Linked DNA regions of Homo sapiens: region 1 is linked to region 2. The links are contacts of gene promoters, found by promoter capture Hi-C in blood cells and fetal thymus (Javierre and others, 2016). All regions are on one chromosome and are shown on one strand. Each heading gives the region's core, a stretch centred on a gene start or on the middle of the fragment in contact. The rest is flanking DNA. Distances are from core to core; before and after follow the strand shown. Region 1 overlaps MACROD1 (mono-ADP ribosylhydrolase 1). Region 2 holds the start of MACROD1 (mono-ADP ribosylhydrolase 1).

The links. Contacts are between HindIII fragments. The CHiCAGO score rates a contact against its expected background, and 5 or more counts as called.
Region 1: a fragment that was not itself captured here is called in contact with the fragment with the promoter of MACROD1 in region 2 in 8 of 17 cell types (M0 macrophages, endothelial precursors, M1 macrophages and 5 more); the score reaches 8.0 in M0 macrophages.

The regions. Positions count from the first base shown.
Region 1 is chr11:64,002,566-64,008,350 of GRCh38, reverse strand. The region is part of intron 4 of MACROD1 (mono-ADP ribosylhydrolase 1); the gene reads left to right. Among named protein-coding and RNA genes, the nearest start is that of OTUB1, 19 kb to the right of the region's middle. RefSeq lists an enhancer at 1-479. The HindIII fragment of the contact is 4,282 bases long and covers 1,272-5,553 here.
Region 2 is chr11:64,163,752-64,168,982 of GRCh38, reverse strand. MACROD1 (mono-ADP ribosylhydrolase 1) reads left to right here and starts at 2,870. Exons shown (of 11, transcript NM_014067.4): 1 at 2,870-3,286. The coding sequence starts at 2,989. LOC105369339 (a long non-coding RNA gene) reads right to left here and starts at 2,745. Exons shown (of 3, transcript XR_950187.3): 1 at 2,394-2,745. RefSeq lists silencers at 2,484-2,743, 3,004-3,083, 3,214-3,313 and an enhancer at 2,851-3,351. The HindIII fragment of the contact is 18,296 bases long and covers 1-5,231 here.

The DNA.
Region 1 (5,785 bases), core at 2,163-4,662, 160 kb after region 2:
GGGCCGGTCCCTCCTCACACACATGCTGGGACCCTGGGGGCCAGCCGAGCGCTCTCCCCCACAACCCTGCCTCTCTCCCTCACCTCTTTCTCTTGCCACCTCCCTCTCTCCCTCGTTTTCTCCATTTCTCCCTCCACGCTTTGCCTCTCCCTGGCTCCCTCTCCCTTCTCCTGTCGTTCTTTCTCTCTGGCTCTGGCTGGTTCTCTGTTCGTAGACCCGCAGGCCCGGGAGGATTCGCCCAGGCCTCTAAGTATTCAGCGCTCGACTCCTGCCCGGCTCACAAGCGCTCCGCGCCCTGCTCTGGCGCTATCTCCCATCGCCCGGCCGCTGCTAATCCGTGATTGCTTCCCGCGGCCGCTAGGAAAAGGCTCAGCTCCGGCCGCTCCGATTAGCCGTGGCCTTGCTCTGCGAGCAGATAAACGTGACCTCCGTGGCCTGTGGCCAGCCTCGGCCCTCTGGAGGCGGGGCTGTGTGCGGCCCTCCCCTCCCCAGCAGGGCTGAGCTCAGAAGCAGCAGGCAGCCGGAAGGGCTGGGCAGTCCCCGCACCTGTCCCTGTGCCAGTCTGGTGGGTGTTGTGTGTGCAGGGTGGGCGTGCCGGGACCCTCTGGCGTGGGGCTGTCTGGCAAAGGGCGAGGGGGGAGGGGGCTGTGCTTCAGCATAGAAGGGAAGGGCGTGTCCAGAAGAGGGAACAGAAGAGGGTCCAGAGGCCGAACCAGAACACGTCCCTTCACTGATGGAAACTTCCCACCGCGCTCGAATCAATTCCCAATTGCTCGACTCCTCGCACCTCCCGGGAGGTCCTGTAGAGGCAGCGCTCCCTCCCAGCCTCACCCGCCGGCCTGTTCCTGCCACAGGGCTCTGCCCTTCCTGAGCTCTCCGCCCGGACTCTCATCCCGGACTCTCCTCCCCATCTCCTTCCAAAGCCAGTTCTTTCTCATTACTCAGGGCTCTGCTCCAATGCCACCTCCTCGGAGGGGCCACCTCATCCTCTGAACGGCGCCCATCCCTCCCTCCTTCCTCGGGGCCAGCTCCATTTTCCCCTTCTCCTTTTTCACCACGCCCACAACTTAGAGCCGCGTGTCCCGTCCCTAGAACTGCTGCGGCCACAGGACTCCTGGCCCTTGCATAGGGCTGGCACGTGGCACGTCGCCCCCGAGCCCTCGTACGCATTTTTTGAATGGTAGAGTTTGGAACCAGTAGGAGGGGCGCGGGAGGCAGTGAATTCATCTGAGAGGGAGGCTGCAGGGAGCCCCAGAGAGTCCAGGAAAGCTTTGTTGGAGTTGAGGATTTTATTCCATGTACTCTTGGGAGCCATGGGAGGTTTTATGACAGGGGATGCGTGCCCTTCCCCAAGGAAAGGCCCCCAGGCCTTCCTGCCACCCCTGCCTGACCCCAGTTGATGATGGTGCCAACGGCAGCCAGGCATTCTCAGTACTTACGACATGGCCACCAGCACCCTTTGAACCTCTCCCTGAAGAATCTCATACACCCTCACCCCGCCCTATGGGAGGCATCATTAGCGTCTCCATTTTGCAGGTGGAGAAACTGAGGCACTAAGTCCCTGGAGCTGAACCTCACTTCCCGCCCCACCCCGCAGCTGGCCCCTGTGTAAGAGGGAGGCTGGGACTTGGGGCCCCTGTCCCGTGGCCACAACTTTGACCAGGCAGGGCTGTGGAGCTCCTGCTCTGTCCCCAGCAGGCACGATGCCACCAAGCCCCGGCATGCAGCTGCCACAGGGATTTTTAATAACGGGAGTGATTTTTGCATGATGAATGAGGCACTGCCGTTGTGTACATAATGAAGCCCTAATGTTTTCAAATCCCCATTTAAGGAGCTGATCTCACCCCGTAATGAATTTCAGATCTCATCACAGAACTGTCGTCCATCCATCTTCTCCCCCGGGCACCCACCCGCCTTGGCACCGAGAGGGTGGGGCCTGGTGAGGATGGGCTCTGCACCCTGCTGGGCTGAGCTCAAGCCTAGCACAGAGCCGGGGCTGGCTAGAGTTTGTTGATTGAATGGCCGACCAGGAGGGTGTGAGCAGAAGCAAAGATGGTTCCGGCAATGGGATATCGCTCAGGTCTTGGCCTAGTTGAATAGAAGCCAGAGGTGGAGAATGAGGAGTGGGCTGGGAGAGAAGAGAGCGCAAGACCCTTGGGTAGGTCACTTATCCGGTCTTTGTGGCTAAACCTTCCCTCTGCAGGGTTAGAAGCCTGGGGCAGCAAGTCAGATGTCTGCCCTTGACGCAGTTGGTACCCTCTCAGAGACTCAGTTTCCCCCATTTCCCCGGGAGCCTTGTCCCTTTCTGCCTTGGCATCTGGTATTTCTGTAGCCCTCCTCCAGAGAGGGAAACCAGCATGGGCTGCACCGAGGCTTGGCTGCCAATGCCCTCCAGGCTGTGCCCAGCCCGTCCAGGCGGGAGTGGTCCCTGGAGCCCAGACCCCTGGTCCTTCCTGGGCTGGAGGGGAGACACACCCCTCCCTCAAACCCCAGCTCACACCTCTGCCTCCCCAAGGCCCTCTGTCTCCAGCCCTCCTGCCTGCCTTCTCAGGGGCATCTCCACCCTGGCAGTGCAGCCAGTCCCTGGGGTACAAGGCCCCCAAAAGCATGACAGGGCAAAGGAATCCCCTGCCTGTGAAGTCCATGGCTGAGCCTCAGCCTCCCATCTGTAAAAAGGGGATCCTCCCATACAGCCCCCAAAAGCTCATTTCAGAGGCGTGAGGTTGAGCCAGAGAGGTATGAGACTCGGCACCTGAGAGGCAGGGCCAGACGCTGCAGTCACAGGGCAGCAGGCTGGACACCCAGCCAGCCCAGGCCCCACTCACCCCCACAACCTTGCCCAGGCCCCCCTTCCTGTTCACCTCCCTGCTCTTGGGGCCCACAGGAGTCTAGGAAGGTGGGGGCCAGGGGCAAGAGCTGCCCAGGCAAGGCCTTACACTTTGCTGTGTGGCTCTGGGAAAGTGGCTTTGCCTCTCTGAGCCTATCACTACTTCTGTACGATGAGGGTTAATAATGTGGGTCTTGGCCGGGCGCGGTGGCTCACGCCTATAATCCCAGCACTTTGGGAGGCCGAGGCGGGCGGATCACAAGGTCAGGAGTTCAAGACCAGCCTGGCCAACATGGCAAAACCCCACCTCTACTAAAAATACAAAAACTAGCCAGGCATCATGGCACACGCCTGTAATCCCAGCTACTCAGGAGGCTGAGGCAGGAGAATTGCTTGAACCCGGGAGGCGGAGGTTGCAGTGAGCTGAGATCATGCCATTGCACTCCAGCCTGGGCAACGAGCAAAAAACTGTCTCAATAAATAAATAAATAAATAAATAAAGTGGATCTTAGTTTCTGCTCCTCCTCTCACTGTGGGGCCTTGGACAGGTTGCTTAACCCCCCTGGCCCTCAGTCTCCCATCCCCCTTGACACCTTCCAGCATATCTCAGTGCTCCCCACCACTCTTTTTTCTTTTCTTTGAGATGGGGTCTTACTATGTTGTCCAGGCTGGTCTCGAACTCCTGAGCTCAAGTGACCCTCCCACCTCAGCCTCCCAAAGTGCTGAGATTACAGGCATGAGTCACCCCTCCCAGCCCCCACCAGTCTCTGGAGGCCAGAGCTCTGAGACTCAGAGAGGTTAAGTGACTTGCCCCAAACCACCAGCAATCTCGTGGCCAGGAATTCTGGGAAGAGAAATCCCAAAGAGGGCACAGCGTGGGCCAGCCCCACGGGATGGTAGGGGGAATGGGGGAGCAGAGAGAGACCAGGAGCAGGTCCAGGCCTGCGGGTTGGGGTGCCCTGCCCTCGGTAGGGGCACAGCTGCCCTCCTGGTCCTGTGGGCCACAGGCCTCCTTATGTTCCTGTAAATAATTAATTAGCCCCTGCCTGCTTGTTTGTTTAGCATGAGGAATGCTCCCCCACTGAGATGCATTTATTGCTGAATAAATTTAAATATCTAATCTTCCCTTCATGCATATTACAGCACCCTAAATAGCGGCCAACTCATCCTAAGCGCCTTGGCGGATGGCCCCACCGGAGCCTGCCTGCCTTCCGCCTCTGCTGGCTCTGAGGACTGCCCACTCCTGGTGCCCTCCACTGCCCCAGGAATGCCCAGGGCCATGGGCAATCACTCAGCCCAGCCCTCCTTCCTTCCACAACATCCTTCCATGGGAGGCGCACAGATGCTGGGCTGAATGCTGGCCGTGGAGGCTGGAAGGCAGGGCTTTACCACAGCAAAGCAGGGAGATGCCTAAGATGGGGCGGAGGGTCAAGGGCCGCTCAGAGGCCAGGGCTTGGGGCAGAAAGAGGTTCCTCCGGGCTCAGGCGAGGGCAGGCAGAGCCCCAGTGGCATTTGAGGAGCGGCCTGAGGAACGAGAGCCCACGAAGGAGACGGGAAGTCCCGCTGGATGGAGGGAGCCGTCAGCGCTGGGGGCAGCCAAACCGTCCAGAAAGACAGTGGCCTCAGAACACTGTGCAACAAGAGGCCACCAGGGCAGCCCCCCTGCTGGAAGGGGACGTGCTGATGTGGGGAGACACTGCCTCCCCAAGAGCGTGGACAGGGGGCCATTCAAACCAGTCAGCCAGAGTGGTTCAGGGCGAGGCCCTTTAGTGGTCCCAGAGGAAGCAGAGCCACTGAGGTTGGGAGCCCAACCTTCCAGCCGTGTGGGCAAGTTTTGCTCTCTGTGCCTCAGTTTCTTCTTCTATAAACAGGAAAAATAATAAGACAGCGGCTGTAAATCACCACGCAGGTGCTTACCCAACAAGAAGGCTGACAAAGGCCATGGGGGGTGAGTCATACCAGCTACTTAGGAGGCTTAGGCAGGGCAACATAGCAAGACCCTGTCTCAAAAAAACACAGGCTCACATCTGTAATCCCAGCACTTTGGGAGGCTGAGACGGGTGGATCACTTGAGGTCAGGAGTTCAAGACCAGCCTGGGCAACATGGTGAAACCCCATCTCTACTAAAAATACAAAAAATCAGCTGGGCATAGTGGTGCGCCCCTGTAAGCTCAGCTACTCGGGAGGCTGAGGCATAAGAATCACTTGAACCCAGGAGGCAGAGGTTGCAGTGAGCCAAGATTGCACCACTGCACTCCAGCCTGGATGATATAGTGAGACAGAGGGCTGATATGAAGGAGCCATATCAGGGGGAGTTTAACGGTAGAGGAGGGTGGAGGGAAGAAGGGGCTGCAGGGAGGAGGCAGAGGGGCCTTAGGGGCCATCTTCTGGCCACAGGTGGAGGAAGGCTTCATCTTTGACCTGATGGAGAAACATCTCAGGGGGGTCCCGCCACCCAAGTGGGCTCTGCCTCCCCAGGAAAGACCCCAGGTTTTCTGCTGACTTGGGGTGAGGGTTGAGCTGGAGCCTGGAGGTTTGTTTTGGTGGCTGAGGGCCCTGGAGAGGAGACTAAGGGTTGGTCAGCTCCTGTGAACTGGGAATACCCCACCTCCACCAGGTAGCCCCAGGGATCAGGGCTGCTGGTCTTTTCCAGCTGCCTTGGGGTGGGGTGGGAAGAGGGAAGAGGGAAGGAAGGGCATCTCCCCTGAATGGGACCCCAGGAAGCTTGAGTCTCTAGGACCTAGCTTAGCCCCAGGTAAGAGCCAGGACAGGGCCTGGAGGGCAGAGCTAAGGGGACTCTGGGAGTGTGTGTGGGAGGGGTCCTTTGGGCCTATGGCTAAGGAGAGCAGGGTGGGGGGGTTCCCCTCTGCACTCTCAGGGGAGAGAGCGAGAAGGCTGGTGTGTGGACAGGGAGGGACACGCAGGCAAGAGGGGCCAGGCTGCACTCTAGCTTGTTGG
Region 2 (5,231 bases), core at 1,621-4,120:
GCCTTGGCCTTCTAAAGTGCTGGGATTACACGCGTGAGCCACTGCACCCGGCCTGAACGCCAAGACTTTCTTATGGCTGGGGACCCTGCCTCTACCTCATCATCCTCACTAGACATTGCCAGGAAGGTTGCACAGGGCAGAATAATGGCCCTCCAAAGACTCCACATCCTAAATCCTAGAGCCTGTAAATATGTTACATTACACGGCAAAGGGGAATGAAGGCTGCAAATCAGCTAAGTAGAGAAATTGTCACAGATTATCTAGGTGGGCTCCATGTAATCACAAGTGTCCCTGAAGATGGAAGAGAGAGGCAGAAGGAGAGTATCAGAGGGAAATGCCACTACAGGAGAATGCTCAGATGCAACCGCGCTGGCTTTGAACATGGAGGAACAGGTCTCAAGCCAAGGAATGTGAGTGGTCTCTGGGAATCAGAAAAGGCAATGATACAGGCTGTCTGCTAGGGCTTCCAGAAAGGAACATGGCCTCGTGTTCCCCTTGATTTTAACCCAGTGATGCCCACATCAGACTTCTGTCCTACAGAACTTTAAGATACTAAATGTGTCGTTGAAGCCAGTGAATTTGCGGTAATGGTACAGCAGCAATGGAGAAGTAATATACTGCATCACCCACATGCCTCATTTCACCAATCAGTGACACCTGCATAACCATTTTCCAGACTGCAGATGGGAACCAAACAGACCTGGACCCAAGTCGGGGCTGGGATCCTGACCTGACCTTGGGCCAATCATCTCTCTGCCTGGAGGGGGTGAGAGCTGAGGATATAACGGGCTAATGGAGGTAGTGGGAATGGACATAGAGGGCTTAGCTCAGTACAGCTGGGACTTCGTGCATGTAGGTGTTGGCTGTCCTGGTTGCAGTCAGCAAGGTCCTTCCTTTACTCTGAGTTACTGGAGGGGCCACAACTGGTGAGGTGACCTGGAGCCTGACCCCTACATCCTGAACCGTGCCTTGCTGATGTTTTCAGGAGAGGGTGCAGGCCTTGCTGGTGGTCCTGGAATGCTGGGGGCCGTGGGCTCTTCCTTCCTGGCCTCTGGCTCCCCTTTGCCCTCACTCCCAGTACTGATGACTGCCTACCCTGCTGCTGGCAAGTCTATGCTGATCCTCTCTTGGGCAGATTTAATGTCTGGAGTCCAAGGGTGAGCCCGTGTCACCATCCCAGTGGTTCCATCTGCATCCATGGCAGGTCAGGGATCCTCGTACGGCCATCCATGGTTATTGCCACACTCAGAGTCAGAGGCCTGGAGCACAGGAGCAGGTTTGCAACCAGCCAGACTCTCTTATTCCTAGCTGACAGCTCAAGAAGTTTGAGTCTTAAGGGGCTAGGGTACCCTAGGGCAGCAACACTAGTACTAGAACCTTCTCTGAAACCCTGGCTCGTTCCTCCCTCGTATTAAAATATATTCATTATTATTATTACTTTTGAGATAGGGTCTCACTGTGTCGTCCAGGCTGTAGTGCAGTGGTGCCATCATGGCTCTCTGTAGCCTTGAACCCTTGGGCTCAAGTGTTTGCCTGCCTCAGCCTCTGGAGTAGCTGGGACTAGAGGTGAGTGTCTACCACCATACCAGGGTAATTTTTTTGTGTGGGGGCGGGTAGAGATGAGGGGGTCTCACTATATTGCCCAGGCTGGTCTTGAACTCCTGGCCTCTAATAATCCTCTTGCCTCAGCCTCCCAAAGTGCTGGGATTACAGGTGTGAGCACTTATTCATTATTCATTATTACATTCATTATATTATTATAATGGCCCGGCCTGTATTCATTATATTTATCATAAAGTAATATTAATAGTACATAAAAATATATAAAAGTACTTAAAAATCCATCCTCGTGTTTTTTGTTTTGTTTTCTTTGAGACAGAGTCTCGTTCTGTCACCCAGGCTGGAGTGCAATGGCACGATCTCGGCTCACCGCAACCTCCGCCTTCCGGGTTCAAGTGATTCTCCTGCCTCAGCCTCCCGAGTAGCTGTAATTAACAGGCATGCACCACCACGCCTGCATAATTTTTGTATTTTTAGTAGAGACGGGGTTTCGCCATGTTGGCCAGGCAGGCCTCGAACTCCTGACCTCGTGATCCACCCAACTCGGCCTACCAAAGTGCTGGGATTACAGGCGTGAGCCACCGCGCCCGGCCGGTTTTTGTTTAAAAAAGAAAAGAAAAAAAAAAAAAAACACACAGACACACACAAAAACATCACCCCAATCCTTCCACCCTTGAACGCCACTTGAAGCCTAAGTTTCCTGCCTCCAAATTCCACTATTTCCACCCTCGACTCTCCTCCCCAGCTGTCCTAGATTCTGCTCCAGCTGAGCCTTGGCCCCGGGGCTGTTAGAAGGCAGAGGCTCTGGGGAGAAGTCCCCAAACCGGATTTACCCGTTCGTCGCACCTGTCCCTAGGAGGGCAGGCTGGGGTGTGGAGGCGGTGCCCTGCTGACCCGCGGGGAGAGAAGCCCGGGTCTCCCAGGCTGCAAAACGCTCGGCACTGCGGAAGCCGCGCCAGGCTCTCCCAGCTCGATACGCAGCGGCCGGCGCGCCTGCTCCGCCGCGGGGCCGAGCGGCAGAGGGGCCCGGGGCTGCGTGGAAGGCCCGGGGGCTTCAGCCCGTGCCGGGGAAGCCGACGCTCAGCCAACCAGAAAGTTAGAGGCGGCCGAGGTCTCGCGGAGGGGAGGCGCCTGGCGGCCACGGGAGAAGTCGAAGGGCTCAGGCGGGGCTCCATCCGCGACACTGGGAGCCCGGGCGGGCGCGCACGTGTGTATACGAGTGCGTGGGCCCATCCGGCGGCCCGGACTACAAGTTCCAGGGTGCCCAGCGGCGCTCCCGGGTTTTCTGGCCGCGCCTCCCGCTGGCTCCGAGCAGGTCGCCGCTGGCTGGCAGTCGCCACCCGGTCCCAGAGTAAATAAGGGAGAGACACTCCCGAGCGCCGTAAATAGAGTCCAAGTGGGCGGAGAGCCGTCCCGCGCCGCCCGCTCATGTCTCTACAGAGCCGACTGTCCGGCCGCCTGGCACAGCTGCGCGCGGCGGGGCAGCTGCTCGTCCCCCCGCGCCCCCGGCCCGGACACTTGGCGGGTGCCACGAGGACCCGCAGCAGCACGTGCGGTCCCCCGGCGTTCCTGGGCGTGTTCGGCCGCCGTGCGCGGACCTCGGCGGGAGTTGGGGCGTGGGGGGCGGCGGCGGTGGGGCGGACAGCCGGGGTGCGCACTTGGGCCCCCCTGGCCATGGCGGCGAAGGTGGACCTGAGCACCTCCACCGACTGGAAGGAGGCGAAATGTAAGTGTAAGCACGAGGGGGCGCGAGGGAGAGGGCGGCCTCACGTGGAGCTTCCCGGCTGGGCGGCCCCCAACGAGCGAGCAGCCCCTTCCACCCGAGAGACCTGGGGAAGTTGAGGCCCCATCTGCCCTGGAACGGACCCCTCCTCCCCATTGACAGCCCCCCCCGCCCCCGCGCGTGTTCCCAGCCCCACAGAACAATTCACTCCAGACCAGGTCCAAGTGTCCACGCAGGGGGCAGCGTGAGGAAGGCGGCCTTCCTTACCCCATTGGAATGGGTCACAGGGCACCCCAGAGATTGTGCAGGACCTACCAACTTCCTTCCCTGTGCAGGAGGGAAACTGAGGCCGAGTGCCACAGCTGGCTTCCCCAAGGTCACTCGGAGCTGGTGGCAAAGTGGAGGTTATGATCCCGGACTCTCCAAACTTTGCACAGTGTGGTTCTTAAGTGTTCGGGAATGGGGCTGAGGGAACAGCTCCGGGGCTGGCGTCCCACCTGGTGGGGCACGTAACCTCACAGAGTGACCTTCCTGGGCTGGCCTGTCCTGCCTCCACCCCACCCCAAGCCCGCACTCTGATGCCTTCCTGGGCACGTGGTCTGGCGCCCTTTTCCCCTTCTCGCTGGCCTCTGGCCACTTGTGAGCAGTTTGCTCATGCCAGGAACAGAGGTTAGAGGAGCAGGGCAGAGGTGGGGTCTTGTCCCTGTGACAACTGATGACACCCTTCAAGAATCACACCACTTCCTCTTGCTCCTGGAGGGGGCATGAGTCTGGGGCCTGGGGAGAGAGAGAACCCAAGCTGCCGCTACTGAGCCCCAAATAGCCCTGCCGGGCACCCAGCTGCCCCTGCCTTTCAGGGCCTGCCTCCTGGGATCCTGTGACTCTTCCCGGCTGGATCCCCTTTCAAAAGTGCAGGGAAGTGGCTAATTGGCTGGGCCTCCGTGGTGGAGTAGGTGTGGCCTCTGGGCTGGGCAGGCAGGATGGGGGGGTCCTGCGGTGTTAGGGGTGAAGAGAAGATGGCTTTCTCGGGACCAGAGGTGGAAATCAAAATGATTTACTCCTGACATGAATTGTGTGGCCTGCGCCAGGATCTAAAAGTGACGGCAGAAAGCACCGACTTTAGCCCGTGAGCAGATGGAGAACTTGTCAGGCACTTGGCCCTTGCCCCAGAACAGCAGGAGGAGTTTGGGGCTGGCAGAGACCCCTGGAGGGGGAGCCACTGTCCCCACAGAGACCCCTGCTCCCCTGAGCACTCTCTCAGAGGACAACAACCCAGGAGGGTGGGAAAGAGCTACGGAGACAAGGTGCCCAGGCACCTGCTCGAGGGCTGCCGCTGTTTTTAGGATCCAGCCCCCACAGCCCCACTCCTTGGTGCCAGGAAAGCAACCGGACCTTGTGATGGGGCTGGGGTTCCTGGGCTGCTGTGTTGTCACTGGGGTCTCCCTTTTGCTTCGAGGTGGGATTTCCAATCATGCAGCAAACTTTTATTGAACGCCCCCTAGGTGGTCAGGCTGGGGACTCAGACATGTGTCAGATAGGCAAGGGCCCTGCCCTCATGGAGCTTGTAATCTGGTGTGAGGATTACAAAGCATCTATTGTAAAGAATGTGTTCTAGCAGCTGAGACAAGGCCCGGTAACCTCAGTGCTGTGAAGACACCATAGCAGATGGGGCCACCTGAGCTGGGGAGATCAGAGGAGGCGTCTCAGGGGTGGTGGCCTGAGAAGAGGCATCCAGCTGGGTAATGATATTCCAGACCCGTTATTGAGTGACAGTGGGCCAGGCCCAAGGAGTGGGGCTGGTCTGGGGCTCTGCCTGCTACTGAAGCCACAGTTAGAGGGACGCTTTCGGGGGTGAGATGTGGAGATCCCCCAATAGTTATCTATTTCTGTGTAACAAAACACCCCGAACCTTAGTGGCGTAAAACAGCAAACCTGCATTCTCTCCATC